Linked DNA regions of Homo sapiens: all the other regions are linked to region 5. The links are contacts of gene promoters, found by promoter capture Hi-C in blood cells and fetal thymus (Javierre and others, 2016). All regions are on one chromosome and are shown on one strand. Each heading gives the region's core, a stretch centred on a gene start or on the middle of the fragment in contact. The rest is flanking DNA. Distances are from core to core; before and after follow the strand shown. Region 1 overlaps UTP20 (UTP20 small subunit processome component). Region 2 has its middle 28 kb from the start of MYBPC1. Region 3 overlaps UTP20 (UTP20 small subunit processome component). Region 4 overlaps LOC105369935 (a long non-coding RNA gene). Region 5 holds the start of GNPTAB (N-acetylglucosamine-1-phosphate transferase subunits alpha and beta). Region 6 has its middle 23 kb from the start of ARL1. Region 7 overlaps UTP20 (UTP20 small subunit processome component).

What was found. Contacts are between HindIII fragments. The CHiCAGO score rates a contact against its expected background, and 5 or more counts as called.
Region 1: a contact is called between a fragment that was not itself captured here and the fragment with the promoter of GNPTAB in region 5, in 1 of 17 cell types (neutrophils). The highest score is 6.3, in neutrophils.
Region 2: a fragment that was not itself captured here is called in contact with the fragment with the promoter of GNPTAB in region 5 in 6 of 17 cell types (naive B cells, total B cells, M0 macrophages and 3 more); the score reaches 8.6 in naive B cells.
Region 3: a contact is called between a fragment that was not itself captured here and the fragment with the promoter of GNPTAB in region 5, in 8 of 17 cell types (total B cells, naive B cells, total CD8 T cells and 5 more). The highest score is 7.1, in total B cells.
Region 4: a contact is called between a fragment that was not itself captured here and the fragment with the promoter of GNPTAB in region 5, in 1 of 17 cell types (M1 macrophages). The highest score is 6.3, in M1 macrophages.
Region 6: a contact is called between a fragment that was not itself captured here and the fragment with the promoter of GNPTAB in region 5, in 5 of 17 cell types (M2 macrophages, neutrophils, M0 macrophages and 2 more). The highest score is 7.4, in M2 macrophages.
Region 7: a fragment that was not itself captured here is called in contact with the fragment with the promoter of GNPTAB in region 5 in 1 of 17 cell types (naive B cells); the score reaches 5.3 in naive B cells.

What each region holds. Positions count from the first base shown.
Region 1 is chr12:101,331,270-101,335,122 of GRCh38, reverse strand. UTP20 (UTP20 small subunit processome component) reads right to left here. Exons shown (of 62, transcript NM_014503.3): 28 at 1,679-1,822; 29 at 619-698. Among named protein-coding and RNA genes, the nearest start is that of UTP20, 53 kb to the right of the region's middle. The HindIII fragment of the contact is 4,703 bases long and covers 1-3,853 here.
Region 2 is chr12:101,565,051-101,568,735 of GRCh38, reverse strand. No RefSeq gene overlaps it. Among named protein-coding and RNA genes, the nearest start is that of MYBPC1, 28 kb to the left of the region's middle. RefSeq lists an enhancer at 2,091-2,385. The HindIII fragment of the contact is 422 bases long and covers 1,950-2,371 here.
Region 3 is chr12:101,380,645-101,384,331 of GRCh38, reverse strand. It overlaps UTP20 (UTP20 small subunit processome component), which reads right to left. Exons shown (of 62, transcript NM_014503.3): 58 at 3,121-3,192; 59 at 1,019-1,291; 60 at 663-789. Among named protein-coding and RNA genes, the nearest start is that of ARL1, 25 kb to the left of the region's middle. The HindIII fragment of the contact is 1,570 bases long and covers 1,191-2,760 here.
Region 4 is chr12:101,533,803-101,537,189 of GRCh38, reverse strand. LOC105369935 (a long non-coding RNA gene) reads right to left here. Exons shown (of 3, transcript XR_945261.2): 3 at 2,910-3,209. Among named protein-coding and RNA genes, the nearest start is that of MYBPC1, 59 kb to the left of the region's middle. The HindIII fragment of the contact is 2,659 bases long and covers 756-3,387 here.
Region 5 is chr12:101,829,648-101,833,248 of GRCh38, reverse strand. It overlaps GNPTAB (N-acetylglucosamine-1-phosphate transferase subunits alpha and beta), which reads left to right and starts at 2,290. Exons shown (of 21, transcript NM_024312.5): 1 at 2,290-2,690. The coding sequence starts at 2,574. RefSeq lists silencers at 2,108-2,507, 2,864-3,158. The HindIII fragment of the contact is 15,537 bases long and covers 1-3,601 here.
Region 6 is chr12:101,429,000-101,432,851 of GRCh38, reverse strand. No RefSeq gene overlaps it. Among named protein-coding and RNA genes, the nearest start is that of ARL1, 23 kb to the right of the region's middle. The HindIII fragment of the contact is 5,381 bases long and covers 1-3,852 here.
Region 7 is chr12:101,359,489-101,362,981 of GRCh38, reverse strand. It overlaps UTP20 (UTP20 small subunit processome component), which reads right to left. Exons shown (of 62, transcript NM_014503.3): 44 at 922-1,020. Among named protein-coding and RNA genes, the nearest start is that of ARL1, 47 kb to the left of the region's middle. The HindIII fragment of the contact is 279 bases long and covers 1,717-1,995 here.

The sequences.
Region 1 (3,853 bases), core at 678-3,177, 500 kb after region 5:
CCACGTGCTATGGCCACATTGTTAACAGTTCTCATGTGTCCTTCTGGACAGTTTCTATTTCATTTCATATTTATACACATAGACACAAACTTTCCTGGATCACACTATATATACTGTCTAGCAATTTATCTTTTTATCTTTTTTTTTTTTTTGAGACAGGGTCTCGCTTTCACCCAGGCTAGAATGCAGTGGCATGATCATGGCTCATTGTAGCCTCAACTTTGTTGGCTCAAGCAATCCTCCCACCTCAGCCTCCAAGTAGCTGGAACTAAAGGCATGCGCCACATGCCCAGCCAATTTTTTGATTTTCAGTAGAGACAAGCCCTCACTACGTTGTCCAGACTGGTCTCGAATTCCTGAGGTCAAGCAATCCTGCCTCTGCCTCCCAAAGTACTGGGATTACAGGCGTGAGCCACTGTGCATGGCTACATTTTTCTTTAAACTATGTATTTTGAGATCTTTCCTTGCTTTTACTCAGCTGCCTCATTCTCTAACTGTACCAAAAGTAGTTCACTGTATGGAAAGACCATAAATTACACTATTAGTTTCCTGGACTGCTTTAACCAGATTCATCTAAAACACTGCCCTTTTTAAAGAAGGAAAAAAGAAAGGTTATACCTTGCGTTTCTGCTCCAGATACTGATCAGTTTCAGCAGAGGAGTAGGAGAATATTGACTCTCAGATCCAAGCCTGCTGATCTAGGAGACAAAGTAAAAAACAGAATACCAAATACATATACCAAATTATAGAAAAACCACAAATAACTAACAAGTACAGAAATCACAGCACAGGATGAAAAAGACAAGGGACAGAGATGAACATCCAAATGACACAATAAGAAAAAGTATAAAGAGATCCAAAAGAACATCTACATAGGAAAAATGGCAAAGGTGATGCATGGAAGTGCTAGACACCAGAAAGGAAATGGTATTTTAGGTTTCAGAGTGTTGGAAATGACTGGGACCTCAAACACCTAGAAACATTTCCTAAAATCAAATCTCTCCTTCAGTCTATACCTATACCAGTTACCATCACCAAGGGGTTACAACCAGAGAAATCAAAATAGGAAGTATGTAATAAAAACACCTGGGTGTTTTCCCTCACACTTGTCCAAAGCCAGAGGCAACGCTATGTGAGGTGCTATAAAAGTCATGTTACAGGCCGGGCACAGTGGCTCACGCCTGTAATCCCAGCACTTTGGGAGGCCAAGGCAGGCGGATCACCTGAGGTCAGGAGTTCAAGACCAGCCTGGCCAACATGGCGAAACTCCATCTCTACTAAAAATACAAAAATTAGCTGGACATTGTGGTGCATGGCTGTAATCCCAGCTACTTGGGAGGCTGAGGCAGGAGAATCTCTTTCTTGAATCCAGGAGGCAGAGGTTGCAGTAAGCAAGACTCTATCTCAAAAAAACAGTTATGTTACAGTTGCTTAAGAGACACATTCATATTCAACTGAGCCTTAAGTGTAAATGCCATGGTACAGCAGAAACTAACTCTTGAGTTTTAGGTGGTAGTGAAGGCAAAGAAAAGTGTTCTAAAAACTTCCAGAAAGAAGGGCTCGATGTAAAAGGAAAGACCCAGGTAAGCATTCATGTCTGGGTGGTAGCTATGTTGGTGAGTTAGTAATAAAGGAAAAAGCAGAACGTACATAGGCAGATGTAGAAATTGAGGTTTACCTGGGGCCAAACTGCACCATGAAACACAGCATCAATTTCTTCTGTTCTAAACTGATATGATTCCCAGTCCAAAAAGATATCAGTTACCATTTTGATTCCAAGACGTCTTAAATTTTTCAATGGATTAATAAATCTCAGCTGTATCTGTAAAACAAAGATCTTCTGTTCAAAAAATACATATGTATCATTTTTATCCCTGATTCCTCAGAGAGGCACTCTTGCTCAGGTGGCTAAGAATCAAACTGGAAATCCTGTTACTAAATCTGTTGACTTGATTTACATGGGAACACCAACCAAGCAAACTGTCTTACTTTTCTCATTGAACAAGAAAAGAAAGCAGAGTCTTAAAACAATATCACTGCCTAGTAGTCACACTAGTTATCCTTAAGAAAAAATATTACAACTGGAATAGTTGTTTTGTATTCTGTATTGTTTTACTTTTTCATTCAAGTAAAATCCTGATTTCTTCCCATGAACAGAACATTCTAAACAAAGCAAAACTTTTTTTTAAAATTTTTTTCCCAACATAATGCCTTATATTAGGGGGAAAAAAATTAAATCTTCATTTCAAATAAAAGCCATTTTTCTATTTATTTCCATACTTAATATTTTACTTTTTTAAGACTAGAAGTTATAAATTATTCTTGTTAAAATTAGTCTAGGGGACTAGTTAAGGAATTTATGATTTTTCCATACAGTGAAATACTTTGTACAGCAAGAGGATGATGTGACTGAGTCAAGGGATAGGAAGATCTCAACATACATAGTTCAAAGAAAAATGCAATTTAGGAGGAAATACGATTTGTCTGTTTAGAGGCATAGAGGCTGGAATGAGTGTGAAATAAAAGCAAACCTTTAAAATAACAAATATTGCTACTTCCACTGGCATCTCCTTCGCTGTGAGTTATAAAATCACAAATACGCAGCCAATTTGTTCAGGCTCAGAGTAGGACAATTTATTGAGTCCCTACTAATGGCTCCAGTGGCATGCCATTAGTATGAATTGAGGTCCTGACCTCAATTCAACTGAAAATCTTATTAAAGGCAAATTTATTGAATGTATGTGAGAGACTGAAAATGCGAAAGACATTTCTTTTTTTTCTTTTTGAGATGGAGCTTCGCTCTTGTTGCCCAGGTTGGAGTGCAATGGCACAATCTGGGCTCACCGCAACCTCCACCTCCTGGGTTCAAGTGATTCTCCTGCCTCAGCCTCCCGAGTAGCTGGGATTACAGGCATGCACCACCACGCCCCGTTCATTTTGTATTTTCAGTAGAGACGGGGTTTCTCCATGTTGGTCAGGCTGGTCTCGAACTCCCCATCTCAGGTGATCTGCCCGCCTCGGACTCCCAAAGTGCTGGGATTGCAGGTGTGAGCCACCACACCCAGCCCAAAGATATTTCAGTAGGAGGAATTACTACAAATTTCAGGATAGAGCTTCATGGAATAGGCAGATTTCTACTGGGTATTAAAGAATGAAGAGCTTTAGGCCAAGCAGAGGAAAGACAAGGGCCTCAAAGGGATTTTTCCCTAGCACAGAATGTTAAAAAAAAAAAAAAACAAATGGGAGAAGATTCAACCCCTAATTGTTTTCCCACTTGATTAGTAAACTGTGGGCTCTAGACATACAAGTGATAATTTATTTTTATATATCACCTTAATTACCTACATTAAAACCTAAAAGCCACCTTGCAATTTATAAAGACAACACAAATGCTCTCATATAGTGAATATCAAGTCTTATGGCCAAGATAACATGAAGAAAACTAATAGGAAAATTACTTATCATGAAAATCTGATAATCTGACAGACAGAGGTATTTGAATCTGATACAGCACATTTTAAATTCAAGTAAATATGAACAAGGATGTCATTAGTTTGCTGAGCAAGCCTCAGGAATCATGGTATCTCACATATGTTCTACTTTCAGCTTATTATCTTATACAAGTTACAAAGGAAATGACAGGTAAGCAAGCACAAGGTGATGTAGTTACAAGTCATTCTGCTCTGCTTCAATTCTACTAGCAATATTTTCATCAGCTGCATCAAGTTTAGTGAAAGATAAAAATTATCCCTGATATTTGAAAAAACATATTATATGGAGCAAATATGAAGCTCACAACTGCAAACATGATATCAAATAGACACTCCCCATCCATCTCCCATTCCCACCAACC
Region 2 (3,685 bases), core at 911-3,410, 260 kb after region 5:
TCTATTGCATCTTGATGTCACTTGAAACAAAACATTTGCAGTTTTACCTTCCTATCTCAACACTTTCTCTTTGTTAGCCTTGTTTAAATATTGTTTACATGTCGCCAAGGATAAATCTCCAGCATCTTCCAAAATAGAGACCAAGGAAACGATCAGATTTCTTTAATGCTCAACTCAGTGCAATAACTTGGCTAATGGAATAAATACACGCTGAACAGTGGCACACTTGCCTTATGAAGAAAGGGCTGGCTGAGAATATCACAATTCTTGCAAAGTCCGACAAATTACAAAAATAAGATCCTTTGGTGAAAGGAAAGCCGCTGATCGGGTTCAAATCCAAGTGAAGAACAGCGTAAGCCACAAGGAAAGCTTATTTGGAAGAGAAGCACCTGATATGTCCGCCTTCTATATATTTCCCTATAACTGGCAGAGAAACTCCTACTGGATTTGGAAAAGTAAAAATAAGGAGTTTATGCAACTTTGAGTGTTGACAGAAAAATTTATCCAAGTGCTTTGCTTGCCTAAGAGGGGAGGAGAGAACAATTGGGTTGACAATGATGACAGGTCCGAGACTTGTGGGTTTAGTTACGTGAGGCCCTACTGTATTACACTTCAGGGTTATTTTGAGATGGTCACGAGAGAGCACTTGAACCCTGAACAAAGAACCTCTCTTGCCTTATCCTATTACAGATGACAGTGAAGTGTTTTAAGTGCCCGGAGTCTGATGCAACTGCAAAACCCCAACCAAAAGGCAAGTGAATGGGGGGTCTTCCATTCTCTTGCTTTGCTTTCCTCTTTAAAAGCCTCTTTGTTCCAAAACTCATGTTTCGCCCTGTTTTTCTGCGGCATTTATAATGGTCTGCCTAAGGAGACATTAGACAGGACTGGTGACATGTTCAGAGTGGGCGTCTGAATTAGCTGGTGACAGGTACAGTAAGAAAATCTTAATAACTCCAGTTACACTTGGTTTTAGCCAACTTTGTCCTCAGAGCAAAAGGAAAACTAGCATTACCAAGAACACATGCCCAAAGCCAGCTTTCCTTGCAGATAAGCAATTCAGGAATATTCAAGCCTTCAAGCCTTTCCTATGACAGAGACAGTAGAATAAATTTAAAATACTAATAAAGAGAAAGCCACTCCTTAAAAAATAATAAACAAGCCACACTATACTTTGTTGGACAATATTTACATCCCTCCAAGTTCAACATTACTTGGTAGCCACTCTGGAAAATATCTCTGTGGCAAGTTAAGACATCGATCCCAAGTCCTGTCTTAGATTAGCACCAGTTAACTGGAGTCTTCCTCCCTTTCCTTCCATTTACATGAACTTGACTAAGATCCCAAATGAATAAGGATCTTTCATCTCAGCACCAGACTTCCAGAGCAGTTATAAATATAGGCTCAAACTGCCTCACTCATGGGGTTAGGTTTTAACTTCTGACATACGAAGTGCTAATGGTTTCAGTGAATACCTGGCCAAAAATCTGCAGTGCTGTCTTTGCTCGTCATATATTATGATTCTATTATCCCAGCTAGTAACAGCTCAGTCAAATGAAAATTTCTCCCAGCCCCTTTGTTGTTGTTTTTTTTCTCACTCCCTTTAGATTTAGTTACAATGCTCAAGCTCTATATCATCAGAAGGTTTAATAGAAGAAAGAAACCATTCTTAACTCTCCAACTCAAGGTGAATGTGATAATGTCACTGGTACAATGATTTATCAAGTACAGCAGTCCTATGTGGTAGGTATTAATGTCCTCATTTTACGGATGAGGAAATTCAGGAATAAACGTTTAAGTAGTTTGCCCAAGGTCACAGAGCTGGGAAGTAAGGTGGAGGTGAGATTTGACTCTAGATTGTCAGGCTGCAAACCTATATTCCAAACCTCAGAGAAAATAAGTTCGCTAACACCCTGGTCTTTCATCTTCTCTGCTCCTCACAACAATAAGCTTGTTCATGCATTTCGAGCAAAATCTGGTAATGTGTTTCTTCTCAATTTGATTATTCAGTAACTCACTTTCACATGTGACCCTTAAAAATTTAAGCAATAACATCTACTCCAAAGATGTCAAATCACCTTATATTCACGGATAGAATTAATTTTGCAACTGTGAAAATTCTACCACATGCGTAACATCCAACAGACATATCAATAGAGTAGAGGTGGTATTTTAAGTTACAATCAGGTTGTTGAGTCATCCCTTCCTCCCCTCCACCCTGGCAAACCCCCCTGCTGCTATTCCTTTCATGTGCCTTTCCACTCCTAATTTGGTTGTCTCCCCTTAATTTGACTATGACACATTCTTTCCTACAGGTTGCCAAACATCCTTGTTATGGGACTCAAGAAAAAGCCACGTAAAAGGAAAGAAAGCTTTCCTTTCCTCTCTGGCCTGTCAAAGGGCATTCTCCCCGCACCCAGACTCCTAAAGAGGAAGGATTCTTGCTTATGGAAGGAAAGCTAGGTGAGCCTAAAGAAAAAGTTGGGGATGGAGGTAGTAGGAGTTAGAGTGAAAGGAAAACATTCTGGGAATGGATGTTAGACGTTTGGAGATGCTGGAGAAAGGTTTGCAACTGCAGAGTGCAAAGGAGGTAGATGAGACAGGAGAGAGGATTTTAATAAGTGCTGCAGTGAAATATGCATTTGGGTTTTTTTTTTTGAAATTTCTTTGAGAGATGCAAGCAAAAGTGGAAGACTTTTATAATTTTTTTTCTGTTGACTTTTGCTTCTTGTTTTTTTGTTTTGTTTTGTGTTTGAGACAGAGTCTCACTCTGTCACCCAGGCTGGTGTGTAGTGGTGCAATCTCAGCTCCCTGTAGCCTCCGCCTCCCAGGTTCAAGCGATTCTTGCCCCAGCCTACCAAGCAGCTGGGACTGCAGGTGTGCACCACCACACCCGGCTACTTTTTGTATTTTCAGTAGGCATGCGGTTTCGCCATGTTGGCCAGGCTAGTCTCAAACTCCTGGCCTCAAATGATCTGTCCGCCTCAGCCTCCCAAAGTGCTGGAATTACAGGCGTGAGCCACCGCGCCCGGCCAACTTTAGCTTCTTTAAATGCAACTCTGTGCAGAGATGGGTATGTACGGAACTTCCCCCTTCTAGATTTATTATTGTTACATCTTTGTCCACACTTCACATCCCTAGGCAAAGATCAAGGAGAAGACTGTTTCTGGAAGAGGCAGAGGGAACAGACAACGCGAAGTCCCTAAATGGGAACAAGTTTGAGTTATTGGAGGAAGTCGGTGTGAGTGGAGTTTAGGGGAAGGCAGGGAGTTACAAAATGAGGTTGGAGTGATGGGCAGAGGTTAGATCCTGCAGCACTCTGAAGTTCAGGAAAGATTTCAGAGTCTATTCTAAGTGTAGGGGAAAATAAATGACTTAAAACCTTCCATTGGAAGGTTTTAAGAAGAGGAGTAGTGTTATGAACCAAATGTGTATGTCTCCCCAAAATTCATATGTTGAAATCCTAACCTCCAATGTGATGGTGTTAGGAGGTGGGTCTTTCAGGGGTGATTAGGTCATGAGGGTAGAGCCTCATGAATGGGATTAGTGCCCTTATGACAAGAGACAGGAGAGCTTGCCGTCCTTCCGCACTCCAGCATGTGAAGATTCAAGAAGATGGCCATCTGTAAAACCAGGAAGTGGATCCTCACCAAATACTGGATTGGCCAAGCACCTTGATCTTGAACTT
Region 3 (3,687 bases), core at 726-3,225, 450 kb after region 5:
TGGGCTCAAGTGATCCTCCCAACTTGGCTTCCCAAAGTGTGGGATTACAGGCGTGAGCCACTACGCCCAGCCTATAATTTTTAAGATGAGAATGTAATGACATTTTATTATTCATTATTATTCATTGTGCTATGAGGTTTAAAACTACCCTGAACCATAGTTTTCTTTGACTATTTAATCTATGTTGAGGATAAAGCATCATCTTTTATGTGAGAAACATTCTTTCTGGGACAGCAGAAAGCATACAGAAGAGGGCAATCAAATATAATACAAATATGCCTATTTGTTAATTATCTTGATATAAGTTTTCTTTTTAAAAATAAACTCTGGCTGGGTACAGTAGCTCACTTCTATAGTCTCAACACTTTGGGAGGCTGAGGTTGGAAGACTGCTTGAAGCCAGGAGTTTGAGACCAAGACCAGCCTGGCATAACATAGACCACTATTCATCTCTCTCTCTTTTTTAAATGTATGTGTGTGTGTGTGTGTGTATATATATAAATATAAACATATATAAGTATATAATATATAATTAAAATATATATATAAATAAAAATAAATCTCAGGCAGGGAGGGAGGACAGAAAGGAAGAAGGAAACATTCAGGAGAGAAGTTAGAAATCCTCATGTGCAAAAGGCAGGAGAACAGACGAGGCAGGGTTACCTTGCTCTGAATAGGTGCTGTTGAGTTCCCGAAACAAAGGAGCTATGATCATTGGGAGATACGGCTTTACCTTGTCTATCCCAAGATCCATTGCTACGGCGCCGAGGAACTTAAAGATGCATGTTCTCTGAAAGTACAGATCATTTTTTTCATTTGAAAGACTTCTCTTTAGCACTCAATCATAGACACAGCATTAATTGAGAAAACAGGGCTCAGTCTATTTTGGGACGGATGTTATTGCTGCAGTTTGGGGTTCAAAGATAAAGTTTCTAGGGACTTAGGAGGATCACTAATATCATTAAAATACTTTTTAAAGAGAAATGACTACTGTCAGTCATTCTGTGCATTCATCGCACCTTTAAGGGGTTTCTCGGCGAATAAGCAGCTTCCAGTTTTGCAATCCGGGACAGCTTCTGGATCAACCACAGCAGCGTGGCCGGCCTGCCGAGCTCTTCCTTCACCTCTTCCTTCTCTTCTCCGTCAGACTCCGCCTTCTCATCTGCACAGGCCACACCATCTTCTAAAGCTTCTTGTTCTTCCAGGTCTTCTTTTATCTTACTTTGCTTATCCTCACAATAAAGTTCCAGTAAATACAAGACTTTGGCTGCGAACAACAAATTCTTAACAACCTTTAAAAAAAAACGGGGTGGGGGAAGAAATTGGACATTGATTTTGAAATAAATAAGGCTTAGTAGAGCATAAGCTAAAATAGGTATTCTACAATTAGAAAACAAAAACAAACTAGGTATTACAACTATTTAACAACTATTAAATGATGAAGGCTCCATTTTTAGATATTCCTTTTTTTTTTTTTTTTAAAGACAGAGCCTCACTCTGTTACCCAGGCTGAGGGCAGTGGTGCAATCTCGGCTCACTGTGACATCCCCCTCCCAGGTTTAAATGATTCTCATGCCTCAGCCTCCTGAGAAGCTGGGATTACAGGCGTGCACCACCATGCCTGGCTAATTTTTATACTTTTAGTAGAGACGGGGTTTCGCCATGTTGGCCAGGCTGGTCTCAAACTCCTGACCTCAGGTGATCTGCCTGCTTCAGCTTCCCAAAGTGATGCGATTACAGGTGTGAGCCACCGTGCCTGGCCTAGATCATTCTTAAGTTCTTCCTCATAGGGCATCCAAACCCATTTCCATGTAACTTTGATCTATCTGGACTAGTTCTACCCTTTAAAGTCACACAGAATAAGGAAACAATTTCCTTCTAGGCCCTCCATTTACATTTTTTGTTTTGTTTTGTTTTGTTTTTTGGGTATTTTTTGAGACAGAGTCTCACTTTGTTACCCAGGCTGGAGTGCAGTGGTGCGATCTCGGCTCAGTGAAACCTCTGCCTCTGGGTTCAAGCAATTCTTATGCCTCAGCCACCCCAGCAACTGGGACTACAGGCTACCGTGCTCAGCTAATTTTTGTATTTTTAGTAGAGACAGGGTTTCGCCATGTTGGCCAGGCTGGTCTTGAACTCCTGGCCTCGAGAGATCTGCTCATCTCGGCCTCCTGAAGTGCTGATGTTACAGGTGAGAGTCACCACACCAGCCCCATTTTACATTTTTAACAACAGCTTTCATCTCTACCTCCATTAAATTCCTTCCGCCATTCTACATAGAAATAACTATTTCTCTCTCTTTTTTTTTTTTTTTTTTGATACAGAGTCTAGCTCTGTTGCCCAGGCTGGAGTGCAGTGTGGTGATTTTGGCTTAGTGCAACCTCTGCCTCCCCAGTTCAAGTGAGTCTCTTGCCTCAGCCTCCTGTGTAGCTGGGACTACAGGCATGCGCCACCATGCCCAGCTAATTTTTGTCTTTTTAGTAGAGATGAAGTTTCACCATATTGGCCAAGATGGTCTTGAACTCCTGGCCTCAAGTGATGCACCTGCCTCGGCCTCCCAAAGTGCTGGGATTATAGGCGTGAGTCACCGCACCCAGACCCTTATTGGGAATTTTAAATGGAGCAAAGAGTAATCCCAATACAGACCCAGTGTTGACAAGACATATGTGTATTTGAACATATATTTGAGTGTATGTCTGTATTTCATCTAATCCCCCAAGCATTAAGATAGGTTCAAAACAAAACAAAATAACAAATGTAAGCTTAGACTGTTGATAGAATAGGCCCCTTCTTTATTTCTGAGACGGAGTCTCGCTCTGTCACCTAGGATGGAGTGCAGTGGCGTGATTTCGGCTTACTGCATCCTCCGCCTCCCACGTTCAAGCAATTCTCCCTGCCTCAGCCTCCCAAGTAGCTCGGATTACAGGCACCCGCAACCATGCCCTGCTAATTTTTTTGTATTTTTAGTAGAGATGGGGTTTCGCCATGTTGGCCAGGCTCATCTCGAACTCCTGACCTCGGGGTGATCTGGCCGCCTCGGCCTCTCAAAGTGCTGGGATTACAGGCGCGAGCCACCATGCCCAGCCGGCCCCTTCTTTTAAACTGGGAGAACTACAATTCTTACCTGTTCTCCTAGAGACTGATCCAAGAATTTGGAATGCAATTGATGGCAAGAGGCGAGAGAGATACTTTTCATCTGTGAAAAGAAAATGGACATTGGTAGACAAAACACAGGACATTTCTGATTGTTTTTAAAAAGCTAAACATAATAACTGTAATACAACTAACGTACTGGATTTTGCTCTGAATGACCACCTGTATAGATTTGGAGAGGAAAGGTTCATGACCAGAAGTGGTGTACTGCTCCCTTCTACCTGCCCTAAGCATTTCATCCCAAATAAATGGGATACTTTCACATTTTGGGGAGAAACAGGTAATAATACTCTACATTTTTTTTTTTTTTTTTTTTTTTAAGACAGAGTCTCACTCTGTGGCCCGGGCTGGACTGCACTGGAGTGATCTCGGCTCACTGCAACCTCTGCTTCCTGGGGTCAAGCAATTCTCCTGCCTTAGCCTCCCAAGTAGCTGGGATTACAGGCACCTACCACCACACCCAGCTAATTTTTTGTATTTTTAGTAGTGATGGGGTTTCGCCATGTTGGCCAGGCTGGTCTCGAACTCCTGACCTCAG
Region 4 (3,387 bases), core at 836-3,335, 300 kb after region 5:
ACATCACTGACCAAATCAAATTTCCTCCTCATAGACAATCTGAGCAACCTTTCCTCTTCTTAATAGCAATGATACCAGTTGGCAAGTTTATTTGTGTGATTATTCAATTAACGTCTTTCTCCTCGACTGGACAGTAAGCTCACAATTTACATATCACGGTGCTTAGGCCCTCAAATATATCCTGTGATTTTTATTTTTATTCACTTATTTATTTTTTGAGACAGGGTCCCACTCTTTCACCCAGGCTAGAGTGTAGTGGCGCGATCTTGGCTCACTGCAACCTCCACCTCCCAGGTTCAAGTGATTCTCCCACCTCAACCTCCTGAGTAGCTGGGAGGCGCGTGCCACCAGCACGGCTAATTTTTGTACTTTTTGTAAAGACAGGGTTTCACCATGTTGGTCAGGCTGGTCTTGAACTCCTGGCCTCAAGTGACCCACTCACCTCAGCCTCTCAAAGTTATCCTGTGATATTAATATGGATTTGTGGCTGGAAGCCATAGTTTTGAGAAGACAAGTACTATCTTCTTACCCTGGTAAAGTAGGGTTTAAATCTCTTGAGAGATCACCAAAAAACAAGCTGGGAAAATTCTATAGCTGTGAACCTAATTTTACATCCTAATAAAAATATGATACTGCTTATTTTCAAAATTCAGTAAGAGTCTATTTGCAGACTTAATGGTGTAAAGAAGTTTGTCAGATTACAGGTTGCCCAGCTGTGAAAGTACAGCTCAAGACCAAACTTTCCGTGTTAAGCTTTGAAGTGAGGTAGGAGTTTTGAAATGGCATATGATTTTCATCATCTTAAGATATCAGACATACGGTTCTAATTTAGAAACCCCAAAGTCAGACCTTACTGAGAGATTGCTTTGATCATTAGGAGGTGGTTAAACTTATATCTGATTACAGTAAGAGCTAACATTTATTGGACACCAACTCTGTGCCAGGCAATGTTTTAAGTGCTCTTTTAATCTCCATAACAATTCTAAATGAGGTTTGTACTATAACTTCTCCCAGTTTATAGACAAGGAAACTGAAGCACAGAGAGATTATGTAATTTTCCCAAGATTATACACTTAGGTCTTCTATGTGTATACTAGCCCATGGGGCTGTTGGGCACTTGAAATGTGGCCCAGCCAGAATTAAGATGTGCTCTGAGTATAAAATACATACTAGATTTTGAAGACTTAGTATGAAATGCTATATAAAAATCTCAATAATTTTTTCTATTGATTGTGTGTTGAAATGATAATATTTTGAATACACAGGGTTAGGTAAGACATTATTAAAATTAATTTTTCTTTCTTTCTTTCCTTTTTTTTTTTTTTTTTTGAGACAGGGTTTCACTTTGTCACCCAGGCTGGAGTACAGTGGTGCGATCTGGGCTCACTGCAGCCTCAACCTCCTAGGCTCAAGCAATCCTTCCACCTCAGCTTTCCCAGTACCTGGGACCACAGGCATGCAACACCACGCCTTGTTAATTTTTGTTTTTTTTTTTTTGTTTATGTTTTTAGTAGAGAACAAATTTTGCTATGTTGCCCAGGCAGGTCTCGAACTCTAGAGCTCAAGCAAGCTGCCGGCCTCGGCCTCCCAAAGTGCTGGGATTACAGGTGTGAGCCACCATGCCCAACCAACATTACTAAAATTAATTTAATCTATTCTTTTTCTTTTTTTAATATGGCTACTAGAAAATTTGCAATGATATTCATGGCTTTCATTCTGTTTCTGTTGGACAGTGCCGATCCACAATCTCACACTACATTATACTGTCTCTCCATCTGGTAGCAAAGCCCTTTGTGGCTAATGGCTGCATTTTGCATAAGGCTGTCGGTAAGGTGAATAATGCATTGAAGAATGTGGAATGAAAAACAAGAAGAGAAGCAGAGATGTCATCCAAAAGTATCAGCATTAAAATCCTAAAGCAGGGAGACAAGTTAGCTATTGTCTTCATCACCTACAGCTCCGTGGAGCTATTCATTGTATGCAATGCCTCCTCATGTCTAGACTCTGTCCTGGCTAGGGCTTTGATAGGCAGATACCAACAACAAATCAACACCTTCTTTGTTCCCTTCTAGACAACAGAAGAAAAACCATGCCTCTTGATGACTTACCTTTGTGTCTATTAATATAACACCTCCCTCTACCCAGCAGTTGTATTCATTCATGGATTTATTCTCTCCCTGCCAGTTTTATTGAGGTAGAATTAACAGATAAAACTTGTGTATACTTACAGTGTACAATGAGATACTTTGATACACATATACATTGTGAAGTGATTATCACAGTGAAGCTAAGTAACCTATCCATTACCTCATATACCTACCTTTTTTAATGTGTGATGAGAACACTTAAGATCTACTCTCTCAGAACATTTCAAGGATACAATACATTGTTATGAACTATAGTTACCATGCTGTACATTAGATCTCCAGAACTTATTCATCCTATAAATGAAAATTTGTATCCTTTGACCAAAATCCCACATTTCTCCAACACCCCCAGCCCTTGGGAACCTCCTTTGGTACTTCCTGATTTTATGAGTTCAACCTCTTTAGTTTCCACATATAAGTGAGATCATGCAGTATTTGACTTTCTGTGTCTGGCTTATTTCACTTAGCAAATGTCCTCCAGTTTCTTCTATGTTGCTTCAAATAACAGGATTTTCTTATTTTTTACGGCTGAACAGTATTCCATTGTATATGTATACATTCCACCTTTTCTTTATTTCTTCATTCATCAGTGGACACTTAGGTTGTTTTCATGTCTTGGCTATTGTGAATAATGCCTTAATGAACAGGGAGTGTGGATATCAATTCGAAATACTGATTTCAATTTATTTGGATAAACACTCAGAAGTAGAATTGCTGATCATATGGGAATTCTATTTTTAGTTTTATGGGCAACCTCCACATTGTTTTTCATAATGGCCACACCAATTTACAATCCCACCAACAGTGTACAAGAGTTCCATTTTCTCCACACCCTCAATGAACACTTATCATTTGACTTTCTGATAATAGTCATTTTAACAGGTGTGAGGAGCTATGTCATTATGGTTTTGACTTGCATTTCCCCAGTGATTAGTGATGTTAAGCACCTTCGTATATGCCATTGGTTTATTCCCAAGTCAGACAGTATCCTCGTCCTTGATATTTTGAGGAATACAGTCTTCTCTTCCTTTTTGCAGATTCTATGGGACAAAGGATGTGGGGCTGTGGGAGAGAGGAGAAATGGGAGGAATTAGAAGTGAGAGACTCAGTGTGAAAAGGAGGAGGCCACGATGGTCGTGGCCCAGACATAGAAGGGGACCCACTGTCCTTTCGCTCTTTGTCCAGGGGCGACAATACCCATCACAGGATGAGCTTTGCTCCATCCCCACCCTCCAACCAC
Region 5 (3,601 bases), core at 1,041-3,540:
ATCCGAGGGAACTCCAAAAAACTCACTAATCAAGAGGAATAATATTTTAATGCTATATATATATATTTTTTTTTTTTTTTTTATTAGATGGAGTTTCACTCTTGTTGCCCAGGCTGGAGTGCAATGGCACGATCTCGGCTGACCGCAACCTCTGCCTCCCGGGTTCAAGTGATTCTCCTGCCTCAGCTTCCTGAGTAGCTGGGATTACAGGCATGTGCCACCATGCCCTGCTAATTTTGTATTTTTAGTAGAGATGGGGTTTCTCCATGTTGGTCAGGCTGGTCTCAGACTCCTGACCTCAGGTGATCCACTCGCCTCAGCCTCCCAAAGTGCTGGGATTATAGGCGTGAGCCACCGTGCCCAGCCTAATGCAATATTTTTAAAAAATCAAAATTAATGGTTGGGCGCAGTGGCTCATGCTTGTAATCCTAGCACTTTGGGAGGTCAAGGCAGGTGAATCACTTGAGGTCAGGAGTTCAAGACCAGCCTGACCAAGATGCTGAAACCCCATCTCTACTAAAAATGCAAAAATTAGCCGGGGGTGGTGGCATGTGCCTGTAATCCCAGCTACTCAGGAGGCTGAGTCAGGAGAATTGCTTGAAGCCAGGAGGCGGATGTTGCAGTGAGCTGAGATCACGCCACTGCAACCCAGCCTGGGCAACAGAGCAAGACTCTGTCTCAAAAAAAAAAAAAAAACCCAAAAAACAAAAAAAACAAAAAACATTACTGAAGAATATCCATGAAAAGCAAAACACCCAAACTTTATGTTTTATTTTACGTTTTAAATTTTTTTTTTATTTTAATAGGAACAGGGTCTGTTACCCAGGCTGGTCTCAAACTTCTGGGCTCCCAGACTCCTGGGCTCAAGCTATCCTCCCACATTGACCTCCCAAAGTATTGGGATTACATGCATGAGCCACCACACCCAGCCCCGATATCAAAACTATAAACAAAGACAGAATCTCACTCCAAACTTGCATGACTCATTTCACAGTACCTTCCCCTAATCTTGGCCCTGTTCTACAGCCTAAGTACCTGGTTCAAATCTCAATTCTGTCATTTACTATTTGTGTGATGTTAGATAGTTACTTTTTTTCATCACAGTTTCTTGATCTGTAGAATGGGGATAATAATGGTATCTCCATTATAAGATTATTGTGAGGATTAGATGAGCTGGGCACATGGCAGATGCTACATAAATGTTGGCCATTATCCTGAGAGTCCTGTTGAGTGGCAGATGTTTTTATATCTGTTACCATGCTTTTTTACCCCTTCTGATTAAGTCCTCAGATCTGTTATCATGCTTGAAAAGACCTCAGAACTATATGTGTCTTGTACAACTGCAATAATCTTTTGCCATGTACATATAGCATATATCAATCATCTTTTTTAAAAGAAGGATTAAAAGAAGTGACTGCAAAGTGTAAAAAATCTTGCCTTGGATTGGAGTGAAGCTAACCCCTTTTGCAAGTCTGTTAATTCCACCTGACCATCAAACTGAGGGTGCGAATTTGAGTATTTCCTGAAGCTGGTTCCCAAGATATTTTTAAAAATGCTTTGAATGATGGCAACATTAGATAAGTGTATTGTTTCCCAGGGTGACTAGGAAAAAAATCTTATTGACTAGGGTGCATTGGGATTAAGAAAAAGATCTCCCTTTCGTAAATCAGAGGCACCAAGGAAAGGATCTCGTGGGAAAAACCTGCTGTCAAAGTCGGATTACCTGGCCACCCCTGAGCTGGTTCCCCTCCAGTTCATCGCATGATTTCTATCATAACAACTCTTGTATTTAGTGGTTTACATGTTTATCTCCCCCACTAGACTCTCTGAGAACAGTAGCCAGGTCTAGTTCATTTTTGAATACCTGACACCAAGCACTATGCCACCTAACAGGCACAAATTACATATTTAACGACTAAATGAATGAACGAAATTCGGTTTTGGCAGATTTAACCCAAAGGTTTCCTCTTTCAAACAATATAGTTGGGGGTTGGAGGAAAGGAGCCACATACAGCATCTCCTTTTAGCACTCTGCAGAGAATGCTAAGTGCAGAGAAGGTTTTATGCACAAAAATATTCATGGCATTATAGTACCGTCTATGGCACAGTCTCGACGCAGGGGGCAGTTTTCTCTTGGTCGCCTGCCCAACCGGGTAAGTGGATCCCAGCTCAGCTCCGCCCCTCCCAGCCCAGCCCTCAGGGCCCGCTGCGCAAGCGCAGGTGGGGAGGGCGCGCACCTTCCCTATGCCCCTCCGTCCTCCAGGTGGCGCTGGAGACCCCGCCGCCGCCGCAGCCGCCTCTCGCCCGGCCAGACCCGGGCGGCGCCGGCCGCCTCGCCGGCCGCAGGTCCGCCTCCGCCGCGCCGAGGGCGTGGGCTCCCGGCTCCCGGAAGCGGCGGCCGCGGCGCGGAGCCGAGCGGGCGTCCGTCGCCGGAGCTGCAATGAGCGGCGCCCGGAGGCTGTGACCTGCGCGCGGCGGCCCGACCGGGGCCCCTGAATGGCGGCTCGCTGAGGCGGCGGCGGCGGCGGCGGCGGCTCAGGCTCCTCGGGGCGTGGCGTGGCGGTGAAGGGGTGATGCTGTTCAAGCTCCTGCAGAGACAGACCTATACCTGCCTGTCCCACAGGTATGGGCTCTACGTGTGCTTCTTGGGCGTCGTTGTCACCATCGTCTCCGCCTTCCAGTTCGGAGAGGTGAGTAGCGGCGCCGCAGCCTGGACCGGGCGCCTCGACCCTGCACTGCCCTCGCCGTGCCCCGCGATGCCCCGATACAGTATGTATTTTTTCATTATTAGAGACGGGGTTTTGCCATGTTGCCCAGGCTGGTCTCGAACTCCTGAGCTCAGGCGATCGCCCTGTCTCGGCGTCCCCGAGTGCTGGGATTACAGGCGTGAGCCACCGCTCCCGGCCAAATACAGTATTCTTTATCATAAACGTGTGCAGAGACTATGAGCAAGTCAGAACTGGAAAAAGGCATGTATGTGATTTTAGATATTGCTCCCTCGCCCACCGTTTTTTAAAAATAGAGACGGAGGTCTCCCTATGTTGCCCAGGTTGGTCTGGAAGTCCTGGGCTCAAGTGATCCTCCCTTCTTGGCTTTCTAAAGTGCTGGGGTTACAGGCATGAGCTACCGCACCTGGCCCAAGAAAGCCACTTTTAGCAACGGGGAGGAAAGCTGTATTTTTAAGTGGTTTGAAATCTGTTCCTTAGTTTTAGTTTTTTTCTTTTTCTTTTTTTTTTTTTTTTTTGGTAGGAGGTTACAAAAGGTTTTAAAATTTAACAGAGTAGTTTTTAGAAATGCCACAGTATACATTTGCTTGAAGTCTTTACCCATGCTGGATTGTAAGCTCCGTAAGAGAAGGTGCTGTCTGTAAATACTGTAACCCTGGCCCAAGCACAGTGCCAGGTACTGCCAGAGAATGCAGTGCAAGTGTTTGTTTAATGGCTAAATTATATGGCATGAATTCTGAGCATGTACTTTTTTAGTAGTTCTTGGTTCTAGAGGCTGGGAAAAAATGTCTTACCATAAGGGTGAGAAAGCTCCAGATTTGTAAGTGTGAAATATGTACTTAATATTATAGTACTTGCTCGTCTTTGTTTCATGT
Region 6 (3,852 bases), core at 1,307-3,806, 400 kb after region 5:
CTTGGCTCACTGTACCCACTGCCTCCCAGGTTCAAGCGATTCTCCTGCCTCAGCCTCCTGAGCAGCTGGGATTACAGGCACCACTACCACACCTGGCTAATTTTTTGTATTCTTAGTAGAGACAAGGTCTTACCATGTTGGCCAGGCTGGTCTCGAACTCCTGACTTCAGGTTATCCGCCTGCCTCAGCGTCCCAAAATGCTGGGATTACAGGTGTGAGCCACCGCACTCAGCTATAAAGATTTTTTTTTTTTTTTTTTTTTTTTTTTGAGATGGAGTCTCGCTCCGTCACCCGGGCTGGAGTGCAGTGGCGCGATCTCGGCTCACTGCAAGCTCCTCCTCTCGGGTTCACGCTATTCTCCTGCCTCAGCCTCCCAAGTAGGTGGGACTACAGGCGCCCACCAGCACGCCTGGCTTATTTTTTTGTATTTTTAATAGAGACGGGGTTTCACCGTGTTAGCCAAGATGGTCTCGATCTCCTGACCTCGTGATCCGCCCGCCTTGGCCACCCAAAGTGCTGGGATTACAGGTTTAAGCCACCGCGCCCGGCCAGCTATAAAGATTTAATGAAGTACAATAGTTGCCCCTTATCTGTGGTTTTGCTTTCCTTGATTTCAGTTACCCACGGTCAACCCTGGTTGAGGAAAATAGGTGAATACAGTACAGTAAGACATTTTGAGACAGAGAGATTACATTCACATAACTTTTATTACAGTGTATTGTTATAATTGCTGTTTTATTTTATTATTAGTTATTGTTGTTAATTTATTTCTGTGCCTAATTTATAAGTTTAACTTTATCATAGGTTTGTAGATATAGGATAAAACAGTATATATAGGGTTCAGGATACTATCTGCAGTTCCAGGCACCCACTGGAGTCATGGAACGTATCCCCTGCAGACACGGGGGGACTATGCAATGCGGTTGAAGCAAACAGCATACTGACTGGCCCACAGTAAGCGCTTGATAAATGTTAGAAGGAAGTACATGTAATGAACATTCAGTGCACACACGATAAGAATCTGTGGGATAAAGTAAACATTTGTTTTCCTTTTTGAAAAGTGTGGCTATCTTGTGACAGATACAGATAATAAAACCCATTTAGAGATATTCCATTTGTCTAATCAACAGTCTAGTAATTGCCAGTCACTGGTTGAGGTTTAAGCCTCTCAAGGATGGCAGCCATTGAGAGTTGACCCAGGTGTGGAGATGCAAGCTGCAAATGGCAGGGCTTCACGGCCGTCTGGAAGAGACTTTGTTACCTCCTTCACCTACCTGTGTTTTCTGATGCTCTTAGTATTCTTAGTTTTCCCATGTCTCAATTCACAAGATGGAAAGAACTACGGACTGAAGAAGAGAAGAGTTCAAGTTAATGAGCAGGGTGACCTCAAGGCCACAGCATCCCCAGTTGTAAAACAAGGAGACTGGAACAGATGATCTCCGAGGTTCTTCTGGCTCTAAGCATTCTATAAAAATGCCAGGCCTGAGTCAGCCCTTCTGGTCTCTATGAATTCTGTATTCTGTGTTGCTCTATTCTGAAGAACTGAGATTACAGATGACAGAGAGCTTTGCAAAACCAGAACTAAAGATGACCTCCTTCCATAAATATTTTATCAGAAGCTAGAGAACTACATAAATGAAAAGATAGTTAAAAGTGAATATTAATGTCTGTCTTCTGAGAATCTTCACTTTACTTTGTGAAGAGAAGTTTCCATCAGAGGTATGTAAACTAAATTAAGAATAGAAATTCTTTAAAGAAAACAAACTTAAATGACTAAAATCTGTTAAGAATAAGATTCATTATACTTTATAGCTCCTATTCAAGTGATACATTACTTTATTAGGTGTACTCATTTAGCTTATATTTTCCAGCATTTTCAGAAATATTATATGTTTTGCATAGTAATGATTATAATGCTTTACATTTGTGGAGCTAATACTTTACAAGTTTACCAAGAGATTTTACAGTAAATTTCAATTATAATGACTTACAACCAAAATATTTATCTGATCAAAAATTTGGTAATATGTAATATAGTTACTTACTCTTGTCAAAAATTATAAATTTATATTAGGGTTAAAGTGTATTTTATACAACAAATATTGCAAGGTGGTTAAAACGCAGCTGTTCAATAGAAATGCAAAGTAGGATGGTAGGTTCTGAAATGCTTCTACGTTTTTTCCCACAGTTGTGAGTTAAGCAATATTCAAAGAACTTCCTTATTTTAACTTTAAGATTAAAACAACTTCTCTATATCAATAATAAAGATTCTTTGTCTTTCAACAGGCAGAAAGTCCACTTCATTATTTGGTATGCAGCATGATATTTAGTATAAAGCAGATTGTTTGACCAAGCTGTTGAAATCATGATATAATAACAAATCATACTCTATGGACAAATCTTTTATGCAATATGATGCTAATTTCTCATGCATAATATATTGTGTGTATTTGGCTTTGAAAAGTGAGACAAAAACAGCAGTAGCAAATGCCAGTGTTTCAGAAGCTAAAGAGAAATTTGAAATTTAATATCAACATTTATTTTTAATATCGTTAACTTTTGAATGGATCAAATTATTGCTTAGCTTGGACTGCCTCATTTGAATAGGCTGGGGAAATTCCAAATTGGCAGTTTCCTCTATGTTCTGGAAAACAATTTTATAAAATACTGAAACATTTGATATCTCTCTGGAGCACCAATGCTATAGTAAATTATTCATTCATTCATTCATTTATTCAACAAAACTTGCAACTTACTATACCTGAGCCACTGTGGTAAGCCTCCTAGGAAAGAAAAAAATATATATAACTGGTTACTTGTGTACATAATGATAAGCAACAATTAATAGTTGTAGGTGATTAGTGTAACATTCCAAGTGCCAGCAATGGATACTATAATATAATAAAGATGGGGGGAATTGGGGAACTAGAGTAGTAATGGAAGGCTTTGCCCAGGAGAAAGAGCTTGAAAAGGTGAGTTGGATTTATATGGAGGGAAATGAATAGAGAAAGCATCTCAGGAAAGAGAAGCAATATACAGAACTTTATAGCATCAGTCATGAAAAAGACAATAAATAGACCAGAGAACATAGAACTTCGTAATTACTTCAATAGTTGTCTTAGTCTGTTTTCTGTTGCTTAAAACAGAATAACTGAAAGTGGGTAATTTATAAGAAAAGGAATTTATTCCTTATAGTTATGGAGGCCGAGAAGTCCAAGGTCAAGGGACCATATCTGGTGAGAGCCTTCTTGCTGGTGAGGACTCTCTGCAGACTCCCAAGGCTGTGCAGGATGTCTCATGGTAAGGGGACTGAGTATGCTAGCTCAGGTGTCTCCCTTTTCTTAGAAAGCCACCAGTCCTACTCTCATAATAATCCATTAATTCATGAATCCGTGAATCCAGAAATGGATTAATTCGTCATGAAAGCAGAGCCCTCATGGCCCAGTCACCTCTTAAAGGCCCCACTTCTCAATACTGCCACACTGGGGATTAAATTTCAACATGATCTTTGAAAGGTAGAAAAAGGTACAAATATTCATGCATTAGCATCCCCTGGGAGCTTGTAGAAATGCAGAATCACAGTCTGATTGTGCATGTTCAAGGTCTTTGGTGCTTTTTTTGTTTGTTTTTTTGTTTTGTTTTTTTAGAGATGCAGTCTCGCTCTGTCACCCAGGCTGGAGTGCAGTGGCACCATCTCGGCTCACTGCAAGCTCCACCTCCAGGTTCACGCCATTCTCCTGCCTCAGCCTCCCGAGTAGTTGGGACTACAGGCGCCCGCCACCACGCCCAGCTAATTTTTGTATTTTTAGTAGAGACGGGGTTTCACTCTGTTAGCCAGGATGGTCTCGTTCT
Region 7 (3,493 bases), core at 607-3,106, 470 kb after region 5:
TTTGTATTTTTAGCAGAGATGGGGTTTCACCATGTAGCACAGGCTGGTCTCAAACTCCTGGTCTCAAGTCATCCACCCACTTCAGCATCCCAAAGTGCTGGGATTACAGGTGTGAGCCATTGTGCCTGGCCTAACGTAAATATTTAAATTGAGATTCAAAATGTTAGTGTCTACATTTTAAAACAAATGAACAAAAGGTTATGTGGCAAATTTATTATCTTCACAATGGTAGCCTCCAAATTAGTATACTATCCAATTTTGTTTTGTTTTGTTTTTTTGAGACAGAGTCTCACTCTGTCGCCCAGGCTGAAGTGCAGTGGCGCGGTCTGCGCTCACTGCAACCTCCACAGCCCAGGTTCAGGGGATTTTCCTGCTTCAGCCTCCTGGGTAGCTGGGATTACAGGTGCGCATCACCATGCCTGGCTAGTTTTTGTATTTTTCTTAGAGACGGGGTTTCACCATGTTGGCCAGGCTGGTCTCAAACTCCTGGACTCAAGTGATCTGCCCACCTCAGCCTCCCAAAGTGCTGGGTTTACAGGCATGAGCCACAGTGCCTGGCCCAATTTTAAAAGTTATTATTAATTTCCGACTGTATTATAAATAAAGCTCCTGTGAACATAACTTATTTCTTAAAAATAGATTCTTAGATGTGACTGAAAATCTTTTCTCATTTCAAAAGCTCTTGATACAAAATGGCAACTTACTTTCCGGAAAGATCATATCAATTTATGACCTCCTTGCAGTGACAGAGTGCCCATCTCGCTTTAGTCTTAGCTCTTTAAACCTCTGCTAATCTAAAAGATGAGGTGTTACATTATTTTCATTTTTATGGGCTATTATTATTTCTTATTTGGTGAATTGATTTTTTTGTGTCGTTGGCCCACTTAAAAAAAAATTAGAATTCGTTTCTGTAAGTCTTACCTCAATCATTATATCTAAACAAGAGTCCAAATCTCCGACCTGCAGCTTATTGGTGAGGCCTTGCAGCAGCATGTGAACGGTGAAAGTCAGCACATGGACCTAACATGAGACACACAGCAACAACATGAATATTAACAATGTCACACTAGGAAAACATAAGATCTAGGAAGCACTGCAAAGAGAACACTCAGAGTTTATATGTCTTTTATTGCCAGGAGAAGCTTCGACAAATGACACATAGTTATTTCACTATCTAAAATCCTGTAACCAAATGATCACTTTGTACCAAAGGTGTTCAGAAACCCACTACCATTCTTAGGATCTATTGTTGTGACTAAACCAGGCCAGTGATTTATAAAGAAAGGCACAAGAGTCTTGAACTTTATTTATTTATTTATTTATTTATTTATTTATTTATTTATTTATTTATTTTTGAGACAGAGTGTTGCTCTTGTAGCGCAGGCTGGAGTGCAATGGTGCGATCTTGGCTCACTGCAACCTCCGTCTCCCGAGTTTAAGAGATTCTTCTGTCTCAGCCTCCCGAGTAGCTAGGATTACAGTCACCCGGCATCGTGACTGGCTAATTTTTTTGTACTTTTTGTAAAGATGGGGTTTCATCATGTTGGCCAGGCTGATCTCGAACTCCTGACCACAGGTGATTTGCCTGCCTCAGCCTCCCTAAGTGCTGCGATTACAGGAGTGAGCCACCATGCCTGGCCAAGAGTCCTGAACTTTAAAGAAAGAAGACCAACCTGTGAATTAAGGAGCTTGCCCATGTTGAATGTAATCAAAGCTTGTAAATAAAATATTATGAAGGAAACAAGTTTTTGCACCCAACAAAAATCAAGCTGATGTTTTCTGAGAGCTTACTACAGGGTAGGTACTATATTAATACCTTACATGTATTAAATCATTTAAGCCTCACTCATCCAATCTATGGAGTAGGTACTACATCATCAGCAGTTTTTAGATGAGGAAGCTGAGGCGCAAAGAGGTCATAGGTAGGAACTGGTGGAGTGAAGATTAGAAACCAGAGTCCCAGGCTCCACAACAGGTTATCCTGCCTCTCAAGCTTTTTGAATTCTTTATGCTGCTTCTAGTGCTGTGAAATTAACAAGGTAAATATCAGATAATGATCATAGGCTAAGGAAACACATTTAGTTGTCAAAACGTAGATTGGGTCTTAAACGCATAGTTTCTTATGTACCTTCTTGTGGTCTTTTATTTTTTTGGAGGCAGAGTCTTGCTCTGTCACCCAGGCTGGAGTGCAGTGGTGCGATCTCAGCTCACTGCAACCTCTGCCTCCCGGGTTCAAGAAATTCTTATGCCTCAGCCTCCCGAGTAGCTGGGATTACAGGCATGTGCCACCATGCCAATTTTTATATACAGATATTTTTTAGTAGAGACAGGGTTTCAGCATGTTGGCCAGGCTGGTCTTGAACTCCTGACCTCAAGTGATCTGCCCGCCTCAGCTTTCCAAAGTGCTGGGATTACAGGTGTGAGCCACAGCATTCGGCCCCTACTTGTGATCTTTAAGTACTTTTATATATAGACGGTTCCCGACTTACAATGTTTTGATCTATGATTTTTCAACTTTATGATGGATTTATTGGGACACTGTCTCATCATAAAAGTCAAAAAGCACCTGTACTTGAAATGTTTGCTGTGAAATTAACATACATATTTTGAGACAGGGTCTTGCTATGTTATCATGCTGGTTTTGAACACCCTGGGCTCAAGGTGTTCACCTCCCACTTCGGCCACCTGAGTTGCTGGCACTAAAGGTACACACCACTGTGCCCAACTTTCCTGTAACTGTAAAAAAACCTTTTGGTGGAGGTGAGGATGACGAGTGATGCTCGAAGAGAACAATTTTGGTACAGTCTACATGATTAACACTAAAGCTGAAATCAGTTGTTCTCTCAACTCTAATTTAGTTATTTTAACTAATAATGGGATAGACTTGAAGAACAGATGGTTAGAGAAAAAAAGGGCTACTCATTTAAACACCTCAAGTGTTCCTTAAAAATGTGTGCATGAATCCTCAAGAACAGAGATGTAGTCCTCCTTGTATGTCCAGTTCTCAATATACCATGTCTCGCAATGCTGTGGTGGTGGCAGTGGCCTTGAAACGGGGAAGGGCAGGAGCTACAACTCTGGGAGGGGAAGCTTCCTCTCCATTCATTGGAACTACAGTTCTGAGAGGGTTGGCCTAGTCTAGTTGCTTTTCTCTTTCTGTGCTGCCATTGCTTGGCCCCTGACATGGGCACAGCTGCAGGAGGCACATGGCAGAGTGGGAAAAATAAAGCCCCAGTTTTCTAGCTGAAAGACTGAAACAAATGCAAAAATTAAGTGTCAGCAAAGAAACAGAAGATCTAAAGAAAAAATAAATGAAAATTTTAGAACTGAAAAACCCAAAAACTGAAATAAGAAACTCATTGGATGAGCTCAATTGCAGAAAGATATGAAAGAGGGAAGAGTCAGTGAAGCTGCAGATAGACTGAAAGAAATTATCCAACCTAAACAGAGTGGAAGAAGAGCTATATATATATATATATACACACACACATAC